4 separate regions of the Homo sapiens genome follow, and regions 1, 3 and 4 are each linked to region 2. The links are contacts of gene promoters, found by promoter capture Hi-C in blood cells and fetal thymus (Javierre and others, 2016). All regions are on one chromosome and are shown on one strand. Each heading gives the region's core, a stretch centred on a gene start or on the middle of the fragment in contact. The rest is flanking DNA. Distances are from core to core; before and after follow the strand shown. Region 1 has its middle 19 kb from the start of PCGF5. Region 2 holds the start of ANKRD1 (ankyrin repeat domain 1). Region 3 overlaps PCGF5 (polycomb group ring finger 5). Region 4 holds the start of HECTD2 (HECT domain E3 ubiquitin protein ligase 2).

Evidence for each region. The method cuts DNA at HindIII sites, captures the fragments that hold promoters and counts their contacts. A CHiCAGO score of 5 or more calls a contact.
Region 1: a contact is called between a fragment that was not itself captured here and the fragment with the promoter of ANKRD1 in region 2, in 1 of 17 cell types (fetal thymus). The highest score is 6.1, in fetal thymus.
Region 3: a fragment that was not itself captured here is called in contact with the fragment with the promoter of ANKRD1 in region 2 in 1 of 17 cell types (neutrophils); the score reaches 7.0 in neutrophils.
Region 4: the fragment with the promoter of HECTD2 here is called in contact with the fragment with the promoter of ANKRD1 in region 2 in 1 of 17 cell types (M1 macrophages); the score reaches 6.3 in M1 macrophages.

The regions. Positions count from the first base shown.
Region 1 is chr10:91,199,354-91,204,205 of GRCh38, forward strand. It overlaps a transcript of PCGF5 not described here. Among named protein-coding and RNA genes, the nearest start is that of PCGF5, 19 kb to the right of the region's middle. The HindIII fragment of the contact is 729 bases long and covers 1,417-2,145 here.
Region 2 is chr10:90,919,647-90,924,662 of GRCh38, forward strand. It overlaps ANKRD1 (ankyrin repeat domain 1), which reads right to left and starts at 1,441. Exons shown (of 9, transcript NM_014391.3): 1 at 1,355-1,441; 2 at 523-702. The coding sequence starts at 1,381. It also overlaps the pseudogene RNU6-740P. The HindIII fragment of the contact is 5,392 bases long and covers 913-5,016 here.
Region 3 is chr10:91,270,925-91,275,657 of GRCh38, forward strand. It overlaps PCGF5 (polycomb group ring finger 5), which reads left to right. Exons shown (of 10, transcript NM_032373.5): 9 at 714-773. Among named protein-coding and RNA genes, the nearest start is that of PCGF5, 53 kb to the left of the region's middle. The HindIII fragment of the contact is 8,912 bases long and covers 1-4,733 here.
Region 4 is chr10:91,407,276-91,412,344 of GRCh38, forward strand. HECTD2 (HECT domain E3 ubiquitin protein ligase 2) reads left to right here and starts at 3,069. Exons shown (of 21, transcript NM_182765.6): 1 at 3,069-3,301. The coding sequence starts at 3,164. The region is part of intron 3 of HECTD2-AS1 (HECTD2 antisense RNA 1); the gene reads right to left. RefSeq lists an enhancer at 2,476-2,685 and a silencer at 2,836-3,425. The HindIII fragment of the contact is 4,522 bases long and covers 1-3,916 here.

The DNA of each region.
Region 1 (4,852 bases), core at 531-3,030, 280 kb after region 2:
ATGGCAGGAGCTCTGGAACTAGAATGACTCCTCTGAGTTGTCTTGACTTGGGCCAAGATGGCCAGGCCTTTATACTCCAGCATCCCTCAGTCCTTGCATCCTTGGGAAAGTGACCTTGGGCAAGGAGGATCTTTGCAGCTGAGGACATGCCTGCAAGAGGCCAACAACATCCCCATCAAGTGCAGCCCAAAGGCTTCTCTGAAGAGGGATCTGATCTCTGCTTCCCAGCATCTTCCACATTAATGTACGTGAAATTCAGCCACGGCTCCAAAATATGATGCAGTATTTTAGTTAAGAAGTAACATTCAAGGCTAGTTTTAGTTTAATACTGAAATTTGATTGAGTTCATTGAAATCCTAGGATGTTAGAGTCCAAAGAGGCCATAAAAATCCTTTATGCAACCCTCTTGTTTGACAGATAGGGAAGTGGAGTAAATAAACAAAGGAGAATAAATTTTAGTGTGGTTTCCCCAGAAACAGACCCCAAGACAAGAATTTGAGAGTAAGTGGTTTAGTTGAGAGGTTCTCCCAAGAAATATCAACAGGAAAGTAGAGAAGTGGGACAGGGAGGAAAAAGAAAGCAATAAAGGGTATAGTTTCAAGAGAATTACTGCTGTGGGCAACTGGAGCTCAATCCGTTTAAGGAACTCTAGGAACTAGTCTACACGCTTCAGGCTATCCTACCCAAAGGACAGGGAAATTGGGTTACTTGCCCATCAACTATCCATCCTCCTTGACTGAGGGCTGTTTCCTGGAGATGCTAACTTCCCTGCATTTTTGCCTCACTGTGGGAGAGGGCCCAGCCTGCTCCCAGAGCCAGAATAAAAGCCACAGGTGTTCAAGAAGGCTGCCTTCAGCATGTAGAGATGAGCGTGGAGGAGATAAGAGGGAGGAGGAGACAGTGACAGTGTCTGCTATAGGGGATTGCCTGAAACTGAACCAGAACTCTGGTATCCTGACTACTGACCAGGGTTCTTTATGCTGATTATTAATATCTTCCTACTCGGTGCCCAAAATTGTTCAACTAATCTAGTTAAGAGAGAGTGAGGGTATAGAAAGAACAGGGGATGTAGCCCCTTTCTGGGAAGTGCGCATATATGTTTGAAAGAAGAAGAGAAGATTTTATAAGCATTAATATCAACAGGTATGGATGAGATTGCATTGAAAGCTGTGCATTGCATTTGTCATTGTTGAGGTGCTGCTATAAGGGACTGTGCCAGAAGGGAAGGTGCTGTTTGTTTTGTTTTGTTTTTAAGATATTGAGTCTTGAACACAGTCTCAGTGGGAGATTTGAACATAATTGGCAGAGGCTGAGAGGCAGGATTGTGTACTGGTGAAGAGTTGGGGGCCTTTCTAGTGGGCAATCTAGTTTATCCTATATTCATCACTTTGTGGTCATTGGACAGTGGGCAAATTAAGCTTTGGTTTCTTCCTGTATACGGTGGGGCCAATTATAGAACCCAATTCATAAGGGTGTTGAGAGCATTCAATGAAGTAATTGATGTAAAAATATTAACCTAGAGCTTGCTGTGTAGGAGGTTGATAACATTAGCTGTGTTCGTGATTACTGTTGACAGAGGGAAGTGGAAAGGGGGAGGGTCAGGTGGGAGAATGGTCAGAGCTTGGGCAAGCACAAGATTCAAGAGGCAAATGGAAAAATAGTGTGAAGTGGAACTCCTGAGACACCAGGGAGGTGATGGGGAAAGTTTTATAAAAGTGAGAAGAGCTGCCCACTTAGACCACATTTTCATGGGAGCTGTCTTAGTTTGTTTTCTGTTGCTACAGCTGAATACCTGAGACTGGGCAATTTATAAAGGAAAGAAATGTATTGCTTACGTATCTGGAGGCTGGGACATCCAAGGGTGAGGTATCTGGTGAGGGCCTTCTTGCCGGTGGAGACCCTCTGCAACCTTCTGAGCTGGGCATCACATGGTGAGGGGCTGAGTGTGTCAGCTCAGGTCTCTCTTCATGTAAAGCCACTAGTCCTATCATGGTCCCCCCAGTGACATTACTAATCTTAATTACCTCCCAAAGCCCCACCTCTAAATGCCATCAACGTATGAATTTGAAGATTAAGTTATCAGCACATGAAATTTGGGGAACTCATTCAAATCATAAACAGGAGCTTAGGTCCCATCAAAGTGAAAGCTTACCAGGAAGCCCAATGTGTAAAAAAAATACGTAAACAGAGTTATGTGTTTGAAGGTGGAGTGGAGAACTATCTTCTCCCCTCCTCCCTCCACCCACAGCCCCTGAGGGAATTCTGAGAAACCCCAAGGCAGCAAGAACAAAAACAATGTCTGCAGAAAGATTTTTTAACACTACTGTAACACCTCATTTGTTCTGTATTGAGTTCATTTTCCAGAAAACCTTTTTTTTTTTTTTTTAAGAAACCCATCTTGGATGAAATTTTGTTTAAGTGTGTTACTTTTTTGCCTTCTTAACAAGGCTGAATGAAAACCTTTTAATCTGTTCTTGATGACTTTTGATCATAGTGATGAACATTTAGTTAAGGTTCTGTGCTTTAATGTGGTGATTTCCAACCTCAGAGTTTCTGAAGTGTTAGGACTGTTTACTGGCACTATGCTTTTGAAATTGTTAGAAGAAGCAGGGTGGCATCAAGGGAGGGTCCTGGACTTGGGAGCTACACTGTCCAGGATTATATCCAAGCCTTGCATTTTATTAGCATTGTGACCAGGTGTAACCACTGTTTGCCTCAATTTCTTCTTTCCCAAATTGAGAAGAATAATTGTACTCACCCCCTAGGATTATTGTGAGAAATAAATAAGTTTTTATATGTTCACTGCTTAGAACCATGCCTTCGTATAAAATGTGCTGTATAAGTGCTATGATGATGATGGTCGATGTATCTGTTTTTATGGTTCTTCTGTCTTTTTTGATGTAGTATGGTGGTTAAGCCTATAGACTCTGAAGCAAAATAACCTGGATTTGAATCCACCACCGTTGTGATCTGATTGTTTTAAGCTGATTAATTTTTGTGAACCTAATGATTTCAGTAAAACCCACCATTGTGACCTTGAGAGAGTTAATTTAATTCCCTGTGATTCAGTTTATTCTTCTGAAAAATGAGGCAAATAATACAAAGTAGTTAACAGGATTGTTGTGAGGATTAAATAGGATAAATTTGTAAGCTCTTAGCACAGTATTTGGCACATAGTGAGTAGTCATTGCATAGTAGTCATCGTTACTGTTAATTATTAAGAGTCTAAATGAGGGATACTGTAATATAATATACAGCCAGAAGTTGTTACTATATTTGACTCCTTAGAAGCCTTGAAAACTTCCTTCTTGTACTTAATTGGTTTCAGTAAATAGAGGTTATTAACTAATTATTGATCTTAAATAGTAAGTTATTTTCAATGTGCTTCTTAATGTTGGGGCAAGGGGTAGTTAGGCGAAAAGATTGGCCATTTATGCTATATAATATGCTTACTATCAAACTGTGACTCAACTTTTAGATGTATTTATGTTGAAGGAGTTAGATCATTCTTTGCTTAAAAGGTTGACATGATTAATGTTCAGATGAGGGGATATTTTCAAAGGAAGAAAAACAGTAAAGAAATGTGTTTGTGAAAATGACTAAAAACAATACAGGGTAAGCAGCAAATTTTCTGATGCAGAATACAGGCCAAACATGATTTAAAAAAGCAAGAAAGCAAACAAACAAAAATGGTGACTTTGCAGCCTTGATGGAGGTAGGGGCAGGGGAAGTGTTCAGCCACAATCTACCAGCAAACCCCTTGGTACTAAGCATTTTAAGGGCTAATTTAGGTCTCTAGAGCATGCCACTATCAAGACTAACCCATTCAGCAGGGCTTTGTATAGCCAAGGTTTTGTTGCATATTAAAATGTTTAGGAAAATTATCCAACATTTGGGAATAAGGCACAGGATGATTGCATGTCTTTTTAGCGTTTTCTTGGAGCACTTAAGACACCAGCCAAGGATCATGTAATTCTCTAGGAAAGTGTTCCTTTGTTTAACTTACTTTTTATTAGGATCCAGATTCTATGAAGTTAGATGTTAATTTGTAGATTGATCCCCTGCAAATGACTTCTGTCTGATAAAGAAGATAACCCCAAAGGTTATAGTTTTATTGCCCTATAGGATAGTAACTAGTTTTATTTCTAAATTAGCAATCTTATTTCAGTATTCTGTATTTCATTGACTGTATACACTTCAGTCTTTCCTGTATTACATTGAACCAGATGTGCCATCCTGCTGAGTTAAAATAAATTTTTGACATATGCTTAATATATATTTGTACAAGACTCATGTTTTTAATTTCTTGAAAACTACATCCTGATAAACCAATTACCTATATTAATGGAAATTTTCTTTCCTATTGTTTTCTCCGTTCTCTTAACATTTTTCATTTCCATTGTAAATTTGAAATTGAAATAAATTTTATAGATCCTTTATTCTTTTAATATAGGAAATTTGTCAACAACAAAAACAAGTGTATATATTTAAAAGTTTTAAACCTGATTGTTTTAGGCTGTTTAATTTTTGTGAACCTAATGATTTCAGTCAGGCCCACATTTCTGAAATGAGCGTTATGTCAGTGTAAGCTAATTTAACACTTTTATGCAGTTTTCATAAGTGATTGTACAACTATTTGATGTTTATTGTTGAGTTTGTGAAGCATGACACCACAAAATCATAAAAATGTTCTAATATCTGTAACCAGAACTACAGATAAGGTAGTGATAACATTTAGAGAACATGTTTTTGAATAGTGATTTGCTTTTATAAAGATTAAACTTTTAGAATTATGAATATAATGTTTAATTTGCATAAGTTTATGTCTACTCTTTACTCCTCATAAAATATT
Region 2 (5,016 bases), core at 191-2,690:
CTAACAATAAATGTTAAGCTCTGAAATATCAATGTCATTCTCTTTCACTAAGCAGAGCCTTCTAAAACAGACTGTCCAGGGACCACAGCTAACTAAAGCAAATTTTATCTGTGTTAGTAATTAAGGAAAATTCACCCAGAAACACAGATTGTGTCAACACAGATAGCAGACAGTTAAACAATGATCTATGGACCACAGACCATGTTATTGAGAAAAAGAGATCTCCGTTGCTTGGGATTAACTACATGGTGTGTAACATCAGGAATTCACTGGACATGTGTATCTTTCAATCAAAACATGGTCACAGCACATTTATTCATTGATTCAGAATTCAGAGGTCATAGTCTTGTCAAAGAGTTATTTCCCAAAACCTGTTCCATACAAGTTGCCTCTTTACGGGTTAGAATCTGGTAAAGAGACATCTTAATGATTGGGTTTGTTTCTCTCTTCTCCTTCCCTGACATTTCCATTCCCTACCCCAGCCCCAACATCCTACTAGTGGATTCCACAGATGGCTCTCACCTCTGCCTCTCGTTGTTTCTCGCTTTTCCACTGTTGCTCCCCCAGGGTCACAGGGTGGGCTAGAAGTGTCTTCAGATCCTCCTGCTTCTCTAAAGTAACAGCAGCTTCATACTCTCCATCTCTGAAATCCTCAGGAAGGAATTCCCCTGCCTCCCCATTGCCATTCTTCTTTCCAGTGACCTATGAGGGAAGAAGATGGCAGCGTCAGAAGCAGCAGCCTCGTCCTGGGTCATTCTTCACAGACAATGCCGCAGGAGGCTCTTGGTCCTTCTCCCCTGGGAACAGCCACCTTTGAGCAGTGCACTCTCAGATCTCAAGCTGCGATGCACACTGCTACAATTGTCCCAGAATTACCTTCAGATGCTTGTCCTACTCTCTTGGTTAAATCAAAGCTTGGGTTAGGTTGACAGATTAAATCTACTTTTAATCTGCTTAATCACATTTCTTTTAGGAAAATCAAAAACCTTCTCTGCTTAATTAAAACTCAACTTTAGGTACTTTTGATGAGTTTCGCCTTATTGTAAAGTTTCCGGGCTTACATTCTTTCAATAACACTTCTTCCCTAAGACATTTTGATAACTACACGTGATTCCACACTGTAGTAATAAAACCAAAGGAGAAGATATTAAATAGGAAATATGCAGAGAATTCATTACTGGTAGCTCCATTTTTTTTTTCCAATTTCACTTGTTTCATCACATCAACCTTTTTCCATATATGACATTTTCAGAGTTCCCTTGCATTACACCTGAAAGCAAAGGGCATTTCAATTTTCAAATAAAAACCAAGATGAACCAGTTTTCATTTTATAAAATTAATGCATCTTACATACCAGTTCCTCTACTTTCAGTACCATCATGTTGGCTGAAGGAGTCTTGTATGTTTTTCTGTCGTGGAAGGAATCCCTGGAGTTGGCCCTGCTGGGCCCCTCCACACCGGTCAGCTTATATAGCTGGGGCCGGGTGAGATAATCTTCCAACCTGGGAACCGAAGTAACACTCCCACCCCCATTAGGAGCCAACTCAGAGGCAGGTGAATTTTCATTCCAGACTCAGTGTCTGGGAAGCTGAAGAGGGAGGGGAGGACAAGCTAACCCTGCTGAATATGTGAATCAGGAAGAAATGTGAGAGGGCCATTCCTTTGGTGGTGATCACATCGCTCAGCAATGCAAGTCATCCTATTTGTCAAGAGTCAGGGGACAGCTGTCTGTTGACATTGCACCACATCACTGCCCTTTTTTTCTTTGTCAGCTTTCATATGACTACCTATCAAGAAAATGTAGATGCCCTACATATCACACCCCCAGTAATATCTTTCTGATAAGCAGACTTATCAACACTTCACTTAGGGGAAACTTGTCCCAGGACATCCTATTCCCTGGGTAAACAGCCTGAGGGGAAGGGATCTGGGCCCTAAAGGCACTTGTCTATATCTGTTTGGAATTCTTTGGAGTGATGTCTGGGGCTAAATAGGCCCCATGACATGCCACCTTACCATCATTATAAGAAATTGAAAGCATTCAGTAATGCACTTTTCTTTTATGATGTCACTGGCCATAATTAGCACATGACATGCTTACCGTGTTCTAAAACAGCATAATAATTGGAGCATTTTTACTTCAAAATGGATCAGAGTGGTCAAGAAATAGAGTAAATGAAACCAGCTATCAGCCGGGTGCAGTGGCTTACACCTGTAATCCCAACATTTTGGGAGGCAGAGACAGGAAGATTGCTTAGCTTAGGAGTTCAATACTAGCCTGGGCAACATGGCAAAATCCCATCTCTACCAAAAATACTATATATATATATGAAAAAAATGAGACCAGTTATTAGCAATGGCAGGACTCTGATTAGGTCATTGAGCTGAAGTTCTCAAATGCTGTGGGGAAAGGAATCACCTGTGGGAGCTTGTCAGAAATACAGATCCCTGGGCCCCACTCCAGGGAATTCTGAGTTGATTTATGGTAACTCGTAGGAATCATCTTGAATTTCAAAGCACCCAGATGATTCTGATGCATCAAGATTTGAGACACGTGGCTGGAGGGATAATGCACTTTGCTTCCGGAAGGGTTGAAAAAGGTCTCTATTTCTGGTTTCTAATCTTTGAGGTGTAAATTATGTAAAAATACTGGGGTCTTTTTATAGTTTCAGGAAAAACTGGGTTTTTTTCAGTAAAAGAAAGGAGAGAAGAATGGGAGAAGGGAATTGTGAATGGAGGGAAGTGTTAATTAGGAAGTTATGTTTGACCTTTGTGTGTCTATTTCTCCCCAAACTCACCCAATCAACAAATGTGGCTGCCATTCTCCTCTTCCCCCTTGAATGCTCAGTCAGTGGATGGTGTTTCTGAAACTTTGAGAAGACATCGACTCCCCACCCCAAGACAAAACATTGACAAAGAGGGACCCTCCCAGTACCTCCTGTATCATATGTTCCGGTCTCCTAATATTCTATCTTAAAAGGGGGTTAATTAAAGGAAATCTCCTGGGCTTTTCTTTGAGATGGACACAGCTATCACTATTTTCTTTTTAATTTTTTCCTTTTCTCTTTATTATTTATTTATTTTTAATATATGGAATGTTTCACAAATTTGTGTGTCATTCTTGCACAGAGTCCATGCTAATCTTCTTTGTATAGCTCCTATTTTAGTATATGTCCTGCTGAAGCAAACAGAGTCATTACTATTTTCATTGGTCTCTTCATCTAAGTCAGAAGTAGTCATGGACACTTTTTCTACCATTTCGTATGCCTTTTTGTTCCAGGCCTGACCCAAACTGAGGGAGGTATTAGGAGGAGAAGTGTTTGGGGGAAGGACTGTGGGATGTTTAAGGGTCTTGGATATGAAATCCCAGAGCTGTCCATGCCCTCGAAGTTGGAGCAAGACTAATGCTCTCATTTTACAGAGAGGATGCTGAGGCAAAGAAACATTAAGTAACTTGCTGCAGATGCACAGCTAGTTGGTGAATGCTAGGTTGAAGAGTCCTGATTCCATCCAACAGAAGCAGACAATCATTGAGCCCAAAAGATTTCCTAGGGCAAGTCTCACCTAGACCCACTCAGGATGCAACCAAAACTGATTAAATGGCTCCTTACTGTTTCAATCACCTCAAAGAATGCAAGTGAAAGTGGGCAGGGAGGCTTACCAAGCCCTTTTCTTTCTCCAGGCATTTAATTATCCCTTGAAACCTAGCTGATTCTATAGAGAGGCTCCAGGAAGTCTTGAAGAAAACTTTGCAGAGGATGACACTTGAAGATGAGTTGATGGAATGGGCTGAACTTAAAGGAGCACGCTGGTGGATGCAAGGATGTCAGGGCTGGTGAAATCACTGCCAGTTCAACCTTTTCCCATGTTGATCCAGCTTGTCATTATAAAACATGAGAGGTACAACTTGAGGATAAGTGGTCAGAAGATGTAAAAAGAATATGACAACAAATAAAGAAAAAAAACATGAGAGAATCTGCTTTTTGAAAAGAGATTCTAGGCACCTTTAGCTCTCTAAAAAGATAAAAACAACAACCATTGTATTTTCAAATCGTTCTTATTCATCAAAATTGAGAAAAAAATTCCCCTGGCGGAGAGTTTTCTGTCATTTGTTTTTCAGAAGCATCCTTCCCATAAAAGTTCACCCAGTGGTGTAAATTCTTATATTTGTGTATTTGGCTTTATCATAGCCTCAATCTGGACATAATCTATCCTTACTAAGATGAATTAAAACAATAAAGGTCCTAGTTGGTTCTACAATCATAAAGCAACTTGGCATCACCCATCTCCAACCAGAAAGAGTAAAGGAAGCATCCCTGAGCTTCTCCAGTGTCACCCCATGAGCCTTTTCCCACTCCCCTCAGGATTTATGCATTTCCATGGGTGAAATGACATGTGACTAGAATTAGGACCATGGTTATAGCTGGAGAAAGTGAGAAGCAGAGAAGTAGCACCTAAAGCAATTACTGCTGTCACCTAGGGATTAAAAGAGGCGCTTGGACCCCACCCAGATCCATGTGCCATAGCTCAGCTCCAAGTCCAAGGGCAGTTTTATCTTTCTGTATAAAATATGAAGTTCCAGACGTTCTACTTCTACTCCAACTTTTCATTCTTATATTTTAACTATATAATAGACACATTATTGTTAAAAATAGCACAGAGAATGTTATTTAGTTCAGATCTTACTGTCGATTTGATACTTGATTATTTTTCGCTCAGTAACCGTGTCTTACAGATTGTCTCCTATCTGCACAAACAAATCTATCTTGCTATTAGAAACAACTGCATGAATTTCCATGCACGGACCTACCATTTCTTATTTAACCACTTTCTCATTTGTGGACATGTAGGCTGTTTTTTTAAAATGGGCATTTTTATTTTCTAAAAAGGCATTTTATAGCACATAAAATTTTATTGTTATTAACACTCCTTGTCCTTAGAACACCCAACTTGATACTAAAAGGAAGTGCTCCAAGGACTGTAGCCAGATTCTGACTTGGAAACCTCCTTGTTCCA
Region 3 (4,733 bases), core at 1,243-3,742, 350 kb after region 2:
ATTTTTTTAAATGTGAATAAACTGTTTTAAAGTAGTAGGTTTACAAATGAATCTACTCAATAGTTTTAAAGTGTGTTCACTCATTGCTTTACTCATAAAACATCTGATGGCTGATATATGCCAGTTCTGGGCCTTAGCTATTAAGACCACAAATGTGACTAAAATATAGATCTAATGCTATATATATATATAATCTAATATATATATAATCAGCAATATAAAGCAACATAAAGAACCTACTATAAAACAGAAAATAGATGCCTTACAGGTTGAGCGGAGTTCCACGTCCCTCCCAGAGCTCTGATTTCCTTGAACAGTATTACTTTCAGGGGAAGTTGAAGAAGAGATCTAGGAGACAGTGATCAGAGGAAGGGATGGAAGAAAGAGGATGTCCCTCGTGTATGCAAGAAGTGAGATTTTCCCAGGAAATAGTATTTGTAAAGGATATGGAAAGGAGAGGCCACCATTTTTGCATTTGCAGAATATTAAACAAAACTCATCTAGATGCTAAAATTACTTCAAGCTAAATTTTACCAGTTACTAAGTTATTAAAATCTTTTTTTCAAAAACAACCACCATTTTTTTGGAAAGTGTTTATTTACCATTAATCATGTTGACTCTTGTGTTTGACGTTAAACTATTTTAAATAATCAATTTTAAATATGTGTCCAGTTGTGGATGCCTCTTATCTGATGAGTTCATCTCCTCCGCAGTTTCGGTGTCTGAACTGCTCAGCTTCGCAAGTCTGCTCTCAGGATGGCCCTTTGTATCAGGTAAGAGGCACTCACGACTGTACATATGACCATCATGACACCATGGCGGTGAGCACATTCATCCCAAACTCAATTCCTAAGACATTTAACTTTGTAAAACTGTTACTGGAGCTACAAAAACTTATCTTTTCAACTTATATACCCAAGATTTCCCATTATTTTAGTTCTCCTGAATTATCTATTTAATTTTACTGAACTAAAAAATTAGAAATGTTAAGGCTATTACTTATGAATCAGGAATTTTTAATAATTACTACTTTCAGTCCTTGAGAAATCTCTACTCCATATTGGATTTTGAGACGTTACTTTCTTTGTATGAATGTTATTTTTCAGTGAATCATTCAACCACAAGTGAAATATAAAATGCCAAATTAGGTGAAGCTAAATAACAGCAACAGCTGATTCTAATTATGAGCTTGCTTATTAGCCCTTCCCTAGTACTTTACTTGAGTTACCTCTTTAAAAATGATAGTGAGCTAATTTAGTAATGCACTAAGAAAAGTTGAACATGTGTCTGAGGAAAGTTTATCTGATAAAGATACATTTTAAAAATTTGGGAAACAGACAAGGGTATAGTAAAGATTATTGTTGGGTACAGATGTGATTGATGATCAGCCTTAACCCTGTGAATTAATCATACCATTTCTTTAAAATATCCATTGTTGGGCCAGGCATAGTGGCTCATGCCTGTAATCCCAGTGCTTTGGGAGGCTGAGGATGTAGGATTGCTTGAGGCCAGGAGTTTGAGACCAGTCTGGGCAATATAGCAAGACAAAAAAAAATTATTTTTTTAGGCCAGACACGGTGGCTCACCTCTGTAATCTCAGCATTTTGGGAGACTGAGGCGGGCAGATCTCTTGAGTCCAGGAGTTTGAGACCAGCCTTGACAACATGGTGAAACCCTATCTCTACAAAAAATACAAAAATTAGCCGGGTGTGGTGGCACACCCCTGTAGTCCCAGCTACTAAGGAGGTTGAGGCGGGAGGGTCGCTTGAGCCCAGGAAATGGAGGTTGCAGTGAACTGAGATTGTGCCACTGCATTCCAGCCTGGGTGACAGAGCAAGACTCTGTTTCAGACAAACAAATAAATAATAAAATAATAAAATCCACCGTTCTTTTATTTCAATAATTAAATGAGTTTTCATCTTTATTTCCTTGGAGCCAGGGAGAAAGGATAATTGTAATTACATAACAAACTTAACTGGCATACTTACCTCCAGTGTTACAGTTTTGGAGTTGGGACAAATGAATGTATGTTAAGCATTAAAAGAATCACTTGAAATTGCTAATTGAAAATGTTTAATTAGCAGTTTATCTAGAATTTTCTTCAGCCTTTTGTCAGTGCTATGATATGGGAATTCTCGTGCCTTCATTAAAATGTGTGCTTTTTGATACATACTCTTTTAAGTCCTAGCTTTTCAGCAATCTAGTAAGTAAATTTAACATCTCTGAAGGCCAAGTCTGAGGGAGAAAGATCATTCTTCTCTCTATGCAGATAAGGGTCTGGGGTAAATAATTTAACTGAGCTGGTGAGATTTGTGTATATCCGAGGTGTATAGATGTTTCAGCTGCTTTAGCCTCATGGCTGATTTGGGAATGCTGAATTGTAACGATAACACTGCCTGTAGCTATAACCTGTGCAATATGTGTCTTTCTGCTTTTACTCTTGGTGTTGATGCCTATGTATTTCCTTAGAAATGAAGATGTCCTTAAACCATGATCCAAAGTATTAGAGAAAAACTGGAGTGAGACCAAATTTCTAAATCCATACAAATTTCCTCTTCTTCCTTCAACACCTCATTAATGGCTCATTAATAGTCTTCATTAATAGTCCTGTAAGGAAATTGAACTTGTAGCTAATAGGATGCACCGTTAACTTCCTGAAAGGATAACTAAATGGTTTTATGTTCTGAATTCTCTCTAATTTTCAAGGAATATATCATTCCTATGCTGTATCTATTGTTAATCATTAGAAAAGGTGGAATCCTTCCACTTTGCCATTCTTAATAGCAAAAACTGACAGAGAACCCACAATTAGAAAACTGGTACCAAATCTGATTTTGAATATAAGTAGATGATAAATAATACACTAATATAGTGTATTATAATAGTGTATAATATAGTGTATATTATATAGTGTATAATATAAAATATTTTATACATTTTATATATTTTATACATATATACTCTAGGTTAAAAATCATCAGTAGATACTGAAAAGGTGTTTGATAAAATTCAATGTGAAGTCCTGATGTTTTCCTATTGAAAAATTTTTCAAAACAACAGAAAATTGAAATAATTATACAAAGGAATATTCTTTATGATTACCTAGATTCATCAATTAACATTTTGCCACATTTTTTGCCTCCTCTTCCCCTCTCTTTCTCTTCTCATCTCCTTATTAATCAATCTGTGTATGTATATATATATGTAATAGTACATTACATTTTATAGAGATGCCAGTTCACCCCACAATTAAATTATAAAGTTAAATGTAATTCCAAACACACTTTTACCAGATCTTTGTTTAACTTGACAAAGTCAGTCATTCTAAAGCTCATAAGGAAATATCAGCAGGTGCTTCGATCAGTCATGTTTTTACAAAGAGTAATGAGAGGGAATGTGTACTACCACATACTAAAACATATTTTAAAGCTGAAGTAATTAAAATAAGGTCTTGCCTTAAACATAGACATATGAATAAAAAGAATAGCTCAGCAACAGACCCTAGTATGTATGAGTCTGTAAAGAGGGTATTTCAAATTAATGCAGTAAAATGATTAATTTAACAAATACCTATTGAGTATTATGCATTGGGCAGTCTTCTAGGCCTTCGAGGTTACAGAAGTAAAAATGAGCACAAATCTTTTCTTTCATGGAACTTACACTAATGATGGTAACAGACAAAAAATAAACAGGTTAAAATTTATAGTGTTAGAAGAAAAAGTAAAATAGATAAATAGAATAGTTTTAATAAGATAGCCAAGAGAAGCCCTCTTTGAGGTGGTGGATTGTTGATCAAAAGAAATTGAGAGACGTTGCTATGTGAATATCTGAGGTAGAGCACTGAAGCCTGAGGCAACACACTGCAAAGGCCCTGAGAATTGATTATGTCTGGTTATTTGAGAATTGCAAGGAGGCCAGTGGGGCTGGAGCACGACAGTGCAGATCTAGTAGGGCTTATTTTTAATTAATTATACTGAGACTGGGTGGGGAATTCAATTCTACCTCACATTTTATATCAGTATAGGTTTATGATGGCTTAAAATGGTAAATATTTTAAATGATACTATAAAAGATCAAGAAGAAAATATAGTTGAAGAACTGATCTCAGAGTGGGGATGGCCTTTCACGTTGTACCTAAAAAAATTGAATTGACTATTAATATTAAAAGCACATGGCAAAAATATCATAAAATATATTTGCAATGTATGATAGAAAAAGGTTTAATGTTATTAATACATAAAGAATTCATACAAATATGTAAGAAAAAGCTCAGCTTTTCATAAAAATGAGCAAAGGACATGATCAGGCAAGATACACAAGAAGGAAACACAATGGGCTAATAAACATATAAAAATGATTAACTTTCTTAGCAGTCAAGAAATGAAAAAAAAATACTATCTTATGCTTATTAAATTGCCAAATTAAGAGGTGGGGAAAGATAGTACTCATTATTGATGAGGCTATAGAGGAATGGGCATTCAAATTTCTTTTAAAAATGTAGAAAAATAAAACTACATTTTATTTTTTTTTTTTTTGAGATGGAATCTTGCTCTGTTGCCAGGCTGGAATGCAGTGGTGCGATCTTGGCTCATTGCAGCCTCCGTCTCCCAGGTTCAAGTGATTCTCCTGCCTCAGCCTCCTTAGTAGCTGGGATTACAGGCATGCGCCACCATGCCCGGCTAATTTTTTTTTTTTTTTTTTTGTATTTTTAGTAGAGGCGGGGTTTCACCGTG
Region 4 (5,069 bases), core at 1,819-4,318, 490 kb after region 2:
GTTTCAAACTCCTGACCTCAAGTGAGCCACCTGCCTTGGCCTCCCAAAGTCTTAGGATTACAGGCATGAGCCACCACACCCAGCCAAGTTATTTTTTAAATAGTAATTTTAAAAATCCACAACCATTATACCTAAGAAAGAGTTCTAAAAATCTTTTTAACAAGGTCAACATGGCTAAAATAATTTCCCCAAGTTTACTTTAGGACAACATTCAGTTGAAATATTAAAATAAGTTGCACTATTTCATAGCTATACCTTCTAAAATTAAGGTATTAGTGGTATAAACCATTCTAAAATGACCTGTGCACCTATTTTGCTATTGTTCACTACATTAGTATTACTATACATAATTAAAATAGAAGTTATCTATAATTTCGACCTTCCATTACCTTGTAATTTTGTCTTTCTTTTTCTTCCAGGGAAATAATGAGTTCTCTAACCCTCACTCCCACCCTGCCAAACCCTATTCCCCATAGGTATAATTAATGAGCTCAGGTCTTCCATCTGGACTTAGAAACATGAAATGCTTCTTCTGCCTCGCTCCTAGTTTTTCCAAAGCGAATGAGTTTATACTTGGATACCCTCACTGTTGCACGTCTGACACTTGGCATAGCTAAAAAGCATCTTCTCCACACCTCTGTACAGAATGGCCAGAGCTCTCTGTATGTCCTGCTTTACAACACTCTCTTCTCCCACCTGGGTCTCCAGAAGCACACTGATGGCAGTTGGGAATGTGTCTCTCAAGCACACCACGAGTTCCCCCAGAGCTATAATTCTACAGCTTTCCAGCAGGCCCCATTCCCATTCTCCAGCCCCCTCCTGGACTATGTATGAGGGAGGGATGAGGTGGTGGATTGAGGACATTTATTTAATAAGAAGTCAAAGGAAACATGAACAAATTATCATTTTTTACATGGAACTCACAAGCTAATTAATCAGAGAATTTGTTAAGAAATGGGTTATCTACTCTGGTGCAGTAGCAGAAATTAACATTTTTGACTTGCCTTGTTTTGCCAATATTTAAGCAGTTTGTTCTATTGAATGTGACTACATGTACAGACACACTTTTATTTAGTCTCACACATGAAAAAAGAAAGCAGAAGGCCTGTTATCCAAGTGGTTTCTCATCCAAACATTTTTATAGCAAATTACTAAATCTAGTTGAAAACAATAGGAAAGAGGATACTTTTCCCTCTAGTATTTGTTCTATCAACCTAGACTTAGCACAGAATATCTGAAATTGCAGCTAAAATAAAGGCTTCATTTTATAAAATAACATTTGAGTTGTTCCTGTATCCATGATCAGCATACAGACCTGCTAAAAGCAGAAAATAATGTTATGTTCCTCTCTATGGGATGAGTATTTCAGTAGTTTTAAGGAAAGAAAATCCTGAAAAAGAATTTAGAAAAATATTAATAGAAAGGAGGAGGATGCTTCAAAGTAATGCCGACATACATCATTTTCCCTCCAAGGCTATTAGCACTGAAATACTTTTTGCTGACTATATGGCACTTATTCTATACCTTTTGTTAATTAACAAGTAAATAGGTGGCAACAGCAACTATATTAAAGTAGAAAGCCTTTCTATAAATGAAAGTCAGAATTCAAAATTTAGAAGGCAACATTGTTTGCTTCAGATCTACTTGTTACAAATTGTGGGTTTGAAAACATGCAACCTTATCTCATGATGCACCATAACTAGTATTTAGTTATACTAATAACTCCAAATTATGTAAACAATAGATACCCCGAAATCATATTTGGGTTTGTTTCAGAGATATTTTTGGTTCTTATATTTGGACTTAGGTACTCTTGATCTAAAAATTCACTCAACCTCCAATAAAATAATGAAGGCACAGATAAAAAATCTGATAGAGCTGAATATCGAAATTCCTTGCTTTTAACAGGCGATACAGCGCATTCTTACTCTCTTTTCTCCTAGATCAGCAGGTGTCCCCGCCGCTCCAGTAGACTGAGAAAAAGGAAAAGGAGGGGGCGACAAGAAAGGAAAGGAAATTGTCTAGGTGTCCTGGTGGTGGAGGTGGGGGGTATTTTAATTTCATAATTAAAAGCTCTCTTCTTCGGCTTTCAAGTTTTTACTCCTATTTGTAATGATTTGATTGAGGACTGTGCAGCAGAGTTTGGGTATGTACATCTCTAACATAAACGGAAAGGAACAAGGAAGGGACGGATAGGAGACAGCAAAGGGTTGCGGGGAGAGAGCAAAACGTAGGCGCGTGGGGACGGGAAGGGAGAGGCGGATTTGGCAGTCAAAGAGGGACGAGAGGAACAGGAATGGAAAGTGTGGACTGGCCGTCCAATCCTATGGGGGAAGGGGAAAGGGGGGGCCCACCACGTCGCACTCCTCCCCACCTCCAGGCTTTTCCTGTGTAGGCTGAAGCCATCCAGGCGTGTACAAAAGAGTCGGTTGCTGAGCCAGGAAGGCTGTCTCCCCGGGCTGCGCAAGCTCCGGGCCGCCTCTCCTGGGCTCAGGAGGGCGGGCAAGGATAAGAAGGCAGAAGCCCCAAGGCGGACAGCTTTGTGGGCGCCTGGAAGAAGGCGAAAGGCCACCAGCCCAGACCCCGAGGGCGCTTGCCCGCGGGACTCGGCGCCGCAGGCCAGGGCCGTCCGTGAAGGGTAGTCTGTGCCTACGTCCTGCCCTACTGGTACCACTCGGACACTCTATCCCCGTCCGACCCTTTGCAGGGCTCGACTTGTCTCCCCGACTGCCCGTCCTTAGTCCAGGTTCTCCTGCGCGGCCCGGGTGCGGGGTCTCCTCGTCATCTCGGGCGACACTCTGCAAACAATATGGCGGTCGGGCGTCGACCGTGGCGCCTTCTCTCCGGGCCCTCGGGGTTGACGAGGGGGACTACCGCCGGCGCTCCCGACCCGCGACGCGCGAGCCCCGGGCGGGCGGGGGAGGCGAGAGCAAGAAACCTGTGGGACCTGTGGGGAGCCGCGTCCGCGGGGCTGGCGCGCGCGGGGGCGGCCTCGGGCTCGCGCGCAAAGGCGCGGGCGCGGGCGGGGGCGGAGTGGCGGCGGCAGCGGCGGCTAGAAGCGGCAGCCCAGAGCCCTCTCGCGGCCGCGGCGGCAGCAGCAGCGCCAGCCCCAGCAACACTGAGGCCGCCGCCGCCGCCTGGCGCTCCCGCCGCCCGGCCCGACATGAGTGAGGCGGTTCGGGTACCCTCGCCCGCCACTCCGCTGGTGGTGGCGGCGCCCGCGCCTGAGGAGAGGAAAGGGAAGGAGTCAGAGCGCGAGAAGCTGCCGCCCATCGTATCGGCGGGCGCCGGCGCGACCGCGGTAGGTGGTGGGCCGGGGCCGTCTGGCGCCCCGGACGGCGGGAGTTGGGAGGGACGGCGGCCGGGCGAGGGCCGTCAGGAGGCCTGCGTTTACCCTGGGCACGCCCTGGCACTCCAGGGAGACGCACTCAGGCCGCCCTTCCTTGGGCAGAAATAAAAGAGTTGTGCCTCGTGGACAGCCCCGAACACTTCGCGAGGTACACCTACCACCCTCGGGAAATGTTGGGGGTGGTCGGTTCCGCTGGATGTTTGGGTTATTTTCTGGGGCTTGGGCCCCCACTTTCTCTAAGAGAATGACCTGCATCTTGAGTCGGCATGATCTGTTGGATGAGCATAGGTGTCAGCAGGCGGGAGTGGGTTTTCCACGGAGGTGCCTGCCTGCCTGCCTGCCTTGGAGGCGCGCAGATTTTTGTCCTTTTCTTCGCTTTTCTTTCCCTTCCCCCTTCAGATTAAACAGGCTCTGCGGCGAGTTTCCACTTAATTGTGACCTTTCCGTTGCTGTCAGTGTAGTGGGAGGTAGATGCATCAGTGATGGTTTTATTTTTCATATGGTACAGACATGTGACTCAGGTGGGGGGAGGCTTTTTGAACCTTTTATTTAAACCCAAGTTATCTAAGCTTGACAGGGATGATTTCCCAGCTGTATCTTCGTAAGGGTTATTTGGAGAGCGCTGTCAGGCTTCAAACTACATATTGCCAGATGATGTCATGGGACAGCCCCCTCCCCCTCTTTCCCTATTTTTACTGGTGGTTGTGACTGGTTAATTTGAAGCACAATTTAAAAAAAAACCTCGGATTTTGCAATTTTTTATTTTGACATAATATTTAAGTACTTTTTGAAAGTTTGCTTTGATATATTTAAAGATCATGACTTGTCATGCAGCTGTGTGTGACAAAATAGTAAAAGTTTAGTGAACATTATACATTTTCTTTATTCCTACTTGCGGTTCATTTCTTAAAACCTCCCTCTTAAATGACTAAGAACTTACTAAAATAGCTCACTCTTCGTTAAGTACTGTATTGGTGTTAGGAATAATTTTCGGATTCGGTAGGTTTTTCAAAAATGTCTGAGGGCCCTGATAACTGGAAATTGTTAAAACAAGCTCTTTAAATCAATGCAGCAAATTGCGAACAGTAATGATACACGTTTAAAAGCGTAGCTACAATTGATTGGTAGATTGGAGCTGGGGTTAGGGATTACCCTAGAAAATGCTTTGAAGGAATTTGTCACCCAGCTGCTTGGAGACCTGGTTCCTGCTGCTGGTACCCTAGGTTTTCAGATTTTATATAGGAAGTCTTTAACTCACAGAATTCCAGCAGTTCATTTCTAAGTTGGTTGTTTAAAACAGTAAATGTATGTACTTATAGAAACAGTTAAATGAGTGGGTTTAGGTCCTCAAGCAAACGCTCTCCCAAAAACCTATTCATCTCATAACTGAAAAATTGCCGTTTTGGAATTTGCAAGTGTGGATACAAGTCTACAGTCTGCTTTGGGATTTCAAGTTTTTCAGATTTTAGAAAGGTAATTCGGTACATATATCATATATTATTTAATACCCACAGTAAGGTCCTAGCCAGTTCTCTCTAATCAACCATCTTAATAACTGTAATGAAATTATGTGTTCATGCTAAAGGGAAAAAGTCAGTAGCGTCATGTCATTTCAGATTAGGTGCATGTTTTTGCCACCAAATGAGTTGCAAAGACACTTCAGTTTCAAGAATTTATAGGACTTTGAAATTGTAAATAGAGGATTATGGACTTGTACTAC